2 separate regions of the Homo sapiens genome follow, and region 2 is linked to region 1. Evidence: promoter capture Hi-C in human tissues and cell types (Jung and others, 2019). All regions are on one chromosome and are shown on one strand. The core of a region is centred on a gene start or on the middle of the fragment in contact, and the rest is flanking DNA. Distances in the headings are between cores, read along the strand shown.

The links. The method cuts DNA at HindIII sites, captures the fragments that hold promoters and counts their contacts. A contact is called where the count stands out against the background at its distance.
Region 2: a contact is called between a fragment that was not itself captured here and the fragment with the promoter of GINS1 in region 1, in 2 of the 25 tissues and cell types used here (IMR-90 fibroblasts and hippocampus).

The regions. Positions count from the first base shown.
Region 1 is chr20:25,405,663-25,409,894 of GRCh38, reverse strand. GINS1 (GINS complex subunit 1) reads right to left here and starts at 2,222. Exons shown (of 7, transcript NM_021067.5): 1 at 2,000-2,222. The coding sequence starts at 2,074. It overlaps LOC105372581 (a long non-coding RNA gene), which reads left to right and starts at 1,600. Exons shown (of 3, transcript XR_937403.3): 1 at 1,600-1,824. RefSeq lists enhancers at 1,076-1,833, 1,931-2,180. The HindIII fragment of the contact is 13,310 bases long and covers 1-4,232 here.
Region 2 is chr20:25,352,692-25,356,923 of GRCh38, reverse strand. The region is part of intron 1 of ABHD12 (abhydrolase domain containing 12, lysophospholipase); the gene reads left to right. Among named protein-coding and RNA genes, the nearest start is that of ABHD12, 36 kb to the left of the region's middle. RefSeq lists an enhancer at 1-429. The HindIII fragment of the contact is 7,479 bases long and covers 1-4,232 here.

The DNA.
Region 1 (4,232 bases), core at 973-3,472:
TCCTGATATGTACAATGACCTCTAAAGTTCCTAGTTCTCAGGCCACATTTTAGCATTTACACACTTCTGCATTCAAGCATCTCTACTGAGCTGCAGACTGCTGCCTAACTTTTTAAATGAGGTAACTGCTCTGAAGTTGAAAAAACAATTGACTAGAAACTGGAAAACCTGTGTTCAAGTTGAAGCTCTACCTCCAATATGCTGTAAATTCAGACGAGTTCCTTAACTTGACCCATAATTTGTGTCAGCTCAGTTTCTTCATTTGTAAGACAATCTAATTGTCTGGCTAGGTGCTCTTTAGTGTTCAAAACAAAACTCATTACCTTTCCCAACACACTCTATCTCCTGAACTCTGATGTTGTTTACCCAGTTTCCTAAGGATCCTCCAAGATCCCAATTCCTCCCTCTTATTCATTATGGACCCCATCTCTGCCCCTGCTCTAATAGCTACAAGTCATGTTTGCTTCATGTCTCTAAAACCCAAACACTGATCTCAGTGCCACTGACCTGACACAGTTCAGACCACACACCTCTCACCTGCTCTATCAGCCACCCAGTAGCCATCTCCCTGTCCCATTCTTTCCTCTCTTCAATCCATTCCCCATATTGCTGCCGCAGTTACCTTCAAAACACAAAAATTACCCTATCACTTCCTTGTCTAAAATCCTCTACCAGCTCCCAGCATGCCTTATAAGTGAACAACAAATTCATGTAGGCTGTGAGCCACCTTCCTAGACTCCCCACAGGCCCTATTGGTCACCCTCTCCAGTGTGACCACGTGACTTTGTGCTGCAGCATCCTTTGGCTGGGATGCCTCGCTTCCTTCTCAGATCAGTAACCTCATCCTTGAGGATGGAAAGGCTCATATATCACCTCTTCTACCCCAGCTCATACTGGTGTTTCTCCTTCGTGCTCCTTGCTATACCTCCTTAGTATCACTTAGCGTGGTGAATTCTATTATCTGTTTTTGTGCCCATCTTCCAGCAGAATGTGTCCTGACATCCACATAATGCCTGCTCTATGACGTAAGTGAAATATACAATTTAGAGTGCAGGCTCTGGAGCCAGAGTGCCAGGGTTCAAATCCTAGCTTTCTTGCTGTGTCACCTTAGGCAATATACTTAAATCTCCCCAATCCTATGCATATATAGCTGAAAAAAGTAGAAAACAATAGTTTAAACATCAAAAAGTTATTTTTGTTTTGTTTGGGACAGGGTCTCCCTGTCACTCAGGCTGGAATGCAGTGGCAGGATCAAGCGATCCTCCCGCCTCAGCCTCCCAAAGTGCTGGGATTACAGGCAGGAGCCATGGTACCGGGCCCTCAAAGGGTTATTAGAAAGACAAAAGATAATGTACATGAAGTGCTTAGCACTCTCCCTGGGGTAGCAGTGATAGAAAAATACAAATAATCATAATATTAATAGTAACAGCAGCAGCAGGAGAAAAGTAATATTAATAGCTAACACTGACTCAGCCCTTACTGTATGTGAGGCATATGCAGAGACCCTTACACATGCCACTCATTTTGCGTCCACTACATCATGCGTTGGGTACTATTATTGTCACCATCCCCATTTTTGCGTATGAGAAAACTGAGAGCACAGAAAGCTTGAGTAACTGCCCCAAAGTCACACTACAGAACCAGAATCTCAGCCAGGTTCCAGAGGCCTAGCTTTTACTGACCACGATTAGATGCCTGAGTGAGCAAGAAATGCTAAATTATCAGGCAACCTGTAAATATTTTAAGGGACCGGAACAAATCTGTCCAAGGAAAACTGCTAAAATGCAAAATTTGCTCAGATGAGGAAATTCACCAAATCGCTGGGTAGCGTAAGCATGAATGCTTTCTCTTTCCTCCTGAATTTTGTTTTGCTGCTTCCCAAGTTTTCCGGAGCTCGGAGGGAACAAGGTGCGAAAGTGAACCCTGACGGGGAGCCGCCCCGCCCCAGAGCCCAGGGCCCAACGCCGGCATGCCCCGTCCAAGTCTACCCGCCCCTCACGTTGAAGGCAGGCAGTTGCCCTTCGGGCGCGCGATGCAGCTCGCGGATCAGTTCCATGGCTTTTTCGCAGAACATGGCGGACGCTTCCCACTCCCGCGGCCTTGCCAACCACCAGCTCTCACGCCAAAATGGTATCTGGGCTCTCGGCGCCTCACTCCTTTCGTTCTAGTCCTACAGCGCCAGGCTCTCGCCTCGGCCTCCGCTCCGCGCTTTGGCGCCGAACAAAGCTAGCCAATAGGAACGCGCCTACGGCGCCCGAAAAGGGACATCCACCGCTCAGCCGCATTCCAAGAGGGGCGGAGTGGGAGGGGTCTTTCCAAGGTGAGGTCCCCGCCCCGGAGATGGCAGAACCCCTCGGCTGAGCAGAGACGGCTTTTCCAGTTCTCAGGCAGTGGGCCGGGGGACTCTACGGGCAGCAGAGCTGGAAATAAATGCACGCCCCGCAGCTTCCTTGTCATTTTCCTTTTGATTCATTCATTCTCGTTTAGGTTCAAGAAAAGAGCACTTTGAGGTTAAGAGGAAAGGCCCAAAAACTTGGTGTGCATTGGTAGGACGCAAGGGTTTCAGTTTTGCAGTGCGGGTTTTCTGTTTGATATTAAAATGAAACTCTCTTTTATTGGGTACCTAGTGCTGGTAGGGACTGCAGTGTGTATTTCATTCCCACAATTATCTCTGAAGTGTTTTAAGACCCGGGATTAATAAGGAAACAGAAGTTAGGTAACTTGCCCAAGGTCACACAGCTCCAGAGTGATTAGACTGTTATTTAGGCTTTCCATTTCCAACACCACAGTACCACCCTTTGATTTTAAAATAGTCTTTTAAAAATATTTGTAATATCTGCCCTAGATTAATACGAATTCACTAGGAATTTTCTTGGCTAGATGGTTATGGAATATTTCTTAAGCATATGGAAGATGGGAATCACTGCTAAAGAATTGTTTTATTAGGCAATTTTTCAAAAAGCAATGTTAATTTCTAACAAGCAATCTTGGATTTTTTTTTTTTTGAGATGGAGTCTCGCTCTGTCGCCCAGGCTGGAGTGCAGTGGCGCGAACTCGGCTCACTGTAAGCTCCGCCTCCCGGGTTCACGCCATTCTCCTGCCTCAGCCTCCCGAGTAGCTGGGACTACAGGCGCCCGCCACCACGCCCAGCTAATTTTTTGAATTTTTTAAGTATAGACGGGGTTTCACCGTGTTAGCCAGGACGGTCTCAATTTCCTGACCTCGTGATCCGCCCACCTCGGCCTCCCAAAGTGCTGGGATTACAGGCATGAGCCACCGCAACCGGCGCAATCTTGGATTAATTCTAGCTAACCCTAGAAACTATGTTGATCTTTTGCAAATATACAGTAGATATGTCATCTAAGGAATGGGCATGGGAATGGCCTACTCAGGCTTATGTTGAATAATGACATTGCCTTTTTTTTTTGGAGACAGGGTCTTAACTCCCGTTACCCAGGTGGAGTGCAGTGGCGCCATCTCAGCTCACTGCAGCCTCCACTTCCCGGGCTGAGGTAATTTTCCCCCCTCAGCCCTCTGAGTAGCTGGGACTACAGGCTCAGGCCACCACACCTGGCTATTTTGTATTTTAAGTAGAGACAGGGTTTCACCATGTTGGCCAGTCTGGTCGACAACTCTTGAGCTCAAGGGATCCGTCCGCCTGGGCCTCCCAAAGTGCTGGAATTACAGCGTGAGCCACCGCACCCAGCAAACATTGCCTTTTTGAAACCGCCTTTGAAAAAATTATAATAGAGAAAATTATTACAGTGAAAGAGATCTGACCTAACTGGCTCCATCTTGCTTCTAACCGCCAAGCCATCCTTGTTCATTCCTGGGCTTAGGGCGAATTAACTTGGGGAGAAACTTAGTTTATAGTTTAATTTTGAAACAAATACTTAGCCCTTTACCAAAGCGAAACCCTTTTTGTCTGGGGACTAGATTGCCTTTGCAGGAGTAACAGAGTAGCCACAAGACTAGAAATTTACGAGTCTCGCAGCGGGAGGCTACAAGATTCTAAAACCTCCCCAAGTGCTCCTAGGGATAGCAGCACTATTATAAAACCTAAGACCAGTGCTTGAGATATTTTGTAGACCCTGCACTTGATGGGATCAGCTGGCACCACCCAGATCGATAAACTGGCTCATCTGGTCTTGTGGTCCCCACCCAAGAACTGACTCAGCCCAAGAGGACAGCTTTGACTCTCTATGATTTTATCTCTCATCCAACCAATCAGC
Region 2 (4,232 bases), core at 1,132-3,631, 53 kb after region 1:
TCCCAGGTAGTTCTCCTACTTTGGCCTCCCAACGTGCTGGGATTACAGGTGCGTGCACTGTGCGGCCTCATTGTGCTGCTCACTGCCCAGTCCTCATTCGAGATGCCTGCCTCGCTAAGCATTTCCCTTCCTGCCTCATTCATATGCACAGCAGCCCATTAGGGCAGATTCCATCACAGTCAGAGGCTCTGGAGACCCCTCTCCTACCACTCTGCCACCTGCCACTCTGCCACAGTGCTCCTGGTGCTCCGCAGGGCTTTTAAAGTCCTCAGACTGAGGGCCCAGCCCTCTCTTCCTCCCCCGTCAAAGGAACCAGGGCAGGTTGTTCAAACAGTTACCCTGGACAGTAGGAGGAAAAGGAAATCACTGTCAAACTGGCAGAGGGAACGCTGGCACCTCTGCCACACTCCCTGCCCAGCTGCTGTTCAGCAAGGCCCTGAAGGCCCACACCTCCCAGTCCTGTAATCTAAGGGATATCCACAGAGGGACCTGCACCCTGCAAGGAAAGTGTGCAAGAGCAGCGCCTGGGAAAGCCATCTGCCACCTCTGAAAGCAGACAGGTGGCCATCTGCCTGGCTGAGCTGATAGAAAAGCCTCTTGCAGGCACTGAGTGTTTATTGATATGTGGCAACCTAAGGAGCCCTGTGCCCCCGTGGGAAGCAAAACCTCCGCAGTCTCAGGTGCAAGAGTGGAGACCTAGAGGAGCTACCATAAATGTCTGACCCTGGATGTGTTTTTTCCCTTGCAGTTTTACAGATGCTGTTTGATGGGAAGGCTTTACATAGTACACTCAGGGTATGCCCTTCTTCATCACCACCAAGCGCAGAAACTGCATCAATAGAAACAGGCTTCATCAACACAGATGATCTTGTGGGCTCCCCTGGTTGTTAGAATGGCTTTTGTTCTCTCAGGAAAGGACTCTGTGTCTGTCCATCAGTACCTCCTATTATTGGCCCAGTTTCACAGCTCAAAGCATGCAAAAGGAAGTCAGCCTCCTGAAATATAAATGACAACTTTTATTTGGTGGCATGCAGTGAAACTTTTTTTTCTTAAAAATACCCTTTATGGGCTGGGCGCAGTGGCTCACGCCTGTAATCCCAGCACTTTGGGAGGCTGAGGCCGGTGGATCACGAGATCAGGAGATTGAGACCATCCTGGCCAACATGGTGAAACCCCGTCTCTACTAAAAATACAAAAATTACCTGGGCATGGTGGTGGGTGCCTGTAATCCCAGCTACTCGGGAGGCTGAGGTAGGAGAATGGCTTGAACCCGGGAGGCGGAGGTTGCAGTGAGCTGGGATCGTGCCACTGCACTCCAGCCTGGTGACAGAGCAAGACTGTCTCAAAAACAAACAAACAACAAAAAAAAAACCGTTTATACTTTGTCAAATGCAGTATGGGAAATCAAAGTACAAAACAACAAAAAAACCCTTTAAATTTCCCAAAGAAAATGTTTTACTCTTTTAGCAGGAAATGGTAAAAACAAAAAGGGGGAAGTGGCAACAGAAAGCTTTCTAGATTGAGTTCAGGGACACAGCATTTCTTCTTAAGCATGATGAGCTCAGCTTTTTTTTTCTATATTGCCCTTAAAACTGGGGACAGGGTCTGTTTTTTAAAATCTTTGTTTTCTGCATATTTCTCTTTGATAGGCAGCAGCAGGGAATGGAAGTGCTCTTCTTGTAGTCTGGAGGGGCTGCATTAAGTGTCGTCCAGCCTGCAGGTCGTCAGGATGGAAAACATCAGTTGTGTACATGCATGATGTGGCACCAGTGAATCCAGTGGTGCCCAGAACACCCCACTGTAGCTTAGCAGGAATGTGCTGCATTATTTGAGAGTGGGGGCCCTCTGGAGTGATTGTACCTTTACTTTTCCTGTTTCCTGATCCAAATACAAAATCATTGACAGCTCAGACCTCTTAGGAAATAATGTCTTTGTTCTTCAAAGTAGTCTAATTATGCTTGAGTATCTGTTCAGAAAGTACAGAAAGAGAAGAAAGAGATAGGAAAGAGAAAGCAAAGTCAGGTAAAAGAAGGGATAGATGTGATTGGGGTAGGTTTCTAATTCTGAACTGCTGGAGGGAGGCCAAACACTGTCATTCTAAGAAAATACGACAGTCAAAAGCTGAGGAAACCAGACAAGTTAATTTTTTTTTTCTAAAATAGTAATTTTTTTTTCTAATTATAACAATTCTATCTTAGGATTTTATTGCACTTAATAGTTTGGCTTGTCAGATTTCTTTTGGTGTCACTGTCTTTCACCATCCATTTGGGATCCTGTGGTTGTGTAAATGGGGAACCAAAAGGGTCCTCATCATGGCCATCAGGAAAGATGGGCTGTGTCCAGTTCCAATGGACAGTGCATCTTGTACACAAGCCTCAGCTTTTCATCTGTAACACGTGGCTTATGTACAGCCTTTTAGACTATGAGGCATGAATAGCAAACAGTGGCAATCGATGCTGAAAAACCAGAATGTTTAAAAACTGGGCCATAAAAATGTAGAACGTATTCTGTCACCAGAGCTGGGGTCAGTGGGGTGACCCCCTCCCTGCCTCCCTGCCCCCCAGTTCTCCCCAGACCTTCCTGCCTGCCTGTTTCCTGCCTCCAGGACAGTGTGCACCCTGTGTCCGTCTTCTGCCGCTACACCTGTGAACTGGCACCACAGGTGGGAACAGCCCTTCAGGCCAGATTCTGGTTTTTGGTTTTTGCTTTACTGCCAAATATGATCTAGTGCTACATTCAACTTAGTTGATTTATTGAGGCTATAAATTCCTACCCATTTGTTTATTCACTTAGGAATTTGCTTTAGGTCTTGAAATAAGAACCTCCCCGTCCTTAAAGATTAAAGGCTTTATTTGGCCGCTCCAGGATGGCTTCCTTTGTCTCCAAATTCCCATTCCCCTTGGGTTTATACAAAGACCACTGCGAAGGAGAGTCCAGCATCCTCAGTATCCTGACCAGCCTGTTCCAAATGTCAGCGGCAGGGGAGACCTTGAGACACTGAAGTGCAGGTGGTGGCACGTTAGTGATCACGCAGCAGTCATTCTTTGATGAGCAGAAACCACGGCCTGACGTTGAGTTTGGTTCTGCAGAGGACAGAAGGAAAGGCCAGGAAGGCGAAGTGAGCAGTGTGTCCCAAGGTGTGCAGACAGCCGTTGGCCCAGGCAGGCTATGGTCTCTAGGCCCAAGACAAATTTTAATTTCTCTATGCCTCGGGTGCTTGCTTATTTCCTGGACCTTGGAAGGATCACAGCAACTCTCCCGTAAGAGCCAAGGGTCTGCCTGCCGGGGGTAGAAGCTAACATTCTCAGTCCTGCTCTAAAGTGAACCCAGCAGCAGCCCAGCCTGTACAGAATACAGCTGGGTCAGGCTTAGGTTCAGCTGTGTTTTTCCCTTTGGGGCCTTTATCTGTGTGCCCTCCTGAGTGCTGCATAAATAACCATATTCCCAAACACATGTTTTGAGAGCATTGTCTTTTGGAAGAGTTAGAAGGTAATGCTGCATATTCTGCTTAAATATTTACATATTCTGCTTATAAATTTGCTTATTCTTTAAATTTTTTGTTTGAGTTATTTACTTTCATTTACAGATACTTGTTCACACTTTGGGAATTAACTTTAAAGGTATATTAAACATGGCATGTTTGCCAGGAAAAAAAAAAACAGAAACAAACAAAAAAAACACCTATGGCTTGCCCTCAGCTCTAGAATTTGGAAAAAGCATTATATGAGATTTCTGATTTATTTTGTCTGTTATTTTGGTATTACTTAGAGATTCAATTTTTAAACTAGCTAATTTTCATTTACAGATTATTTGTATGTGTCCTTCATAATTAGATGACAGAACTGTGGTGGCGATAGAGCTGCTAATTTAAAATCACCAATTTTGGAGGCTCTGTTTGTTTATTTATAAAAATAGAGACAGAGTCTCACTCTTGCCCAGGCTTGAGTGCAGTGACGTGATCATAGCTCACTACAGACTCAGCCTTCAGAGTAGCTGGGACTATGGGTACACACCACCACATCTCGTTAATTTTTTTTTTAAATTAAGACACCTGGTCTCACTGTGTTGCCCAGGCTGGTCCTGAACTCCTGTCCTCAAGCTATTCTCTTGCTTTGGCCTCCCAAAGTGCTGGAATTATAGGCATCAGCTACCATGCCTGGCCTGTATGTATTTTAATTAGAATTCATTTTAATTTTGAGAAATCTTTTTGATAGATATGTACAATAAATAGA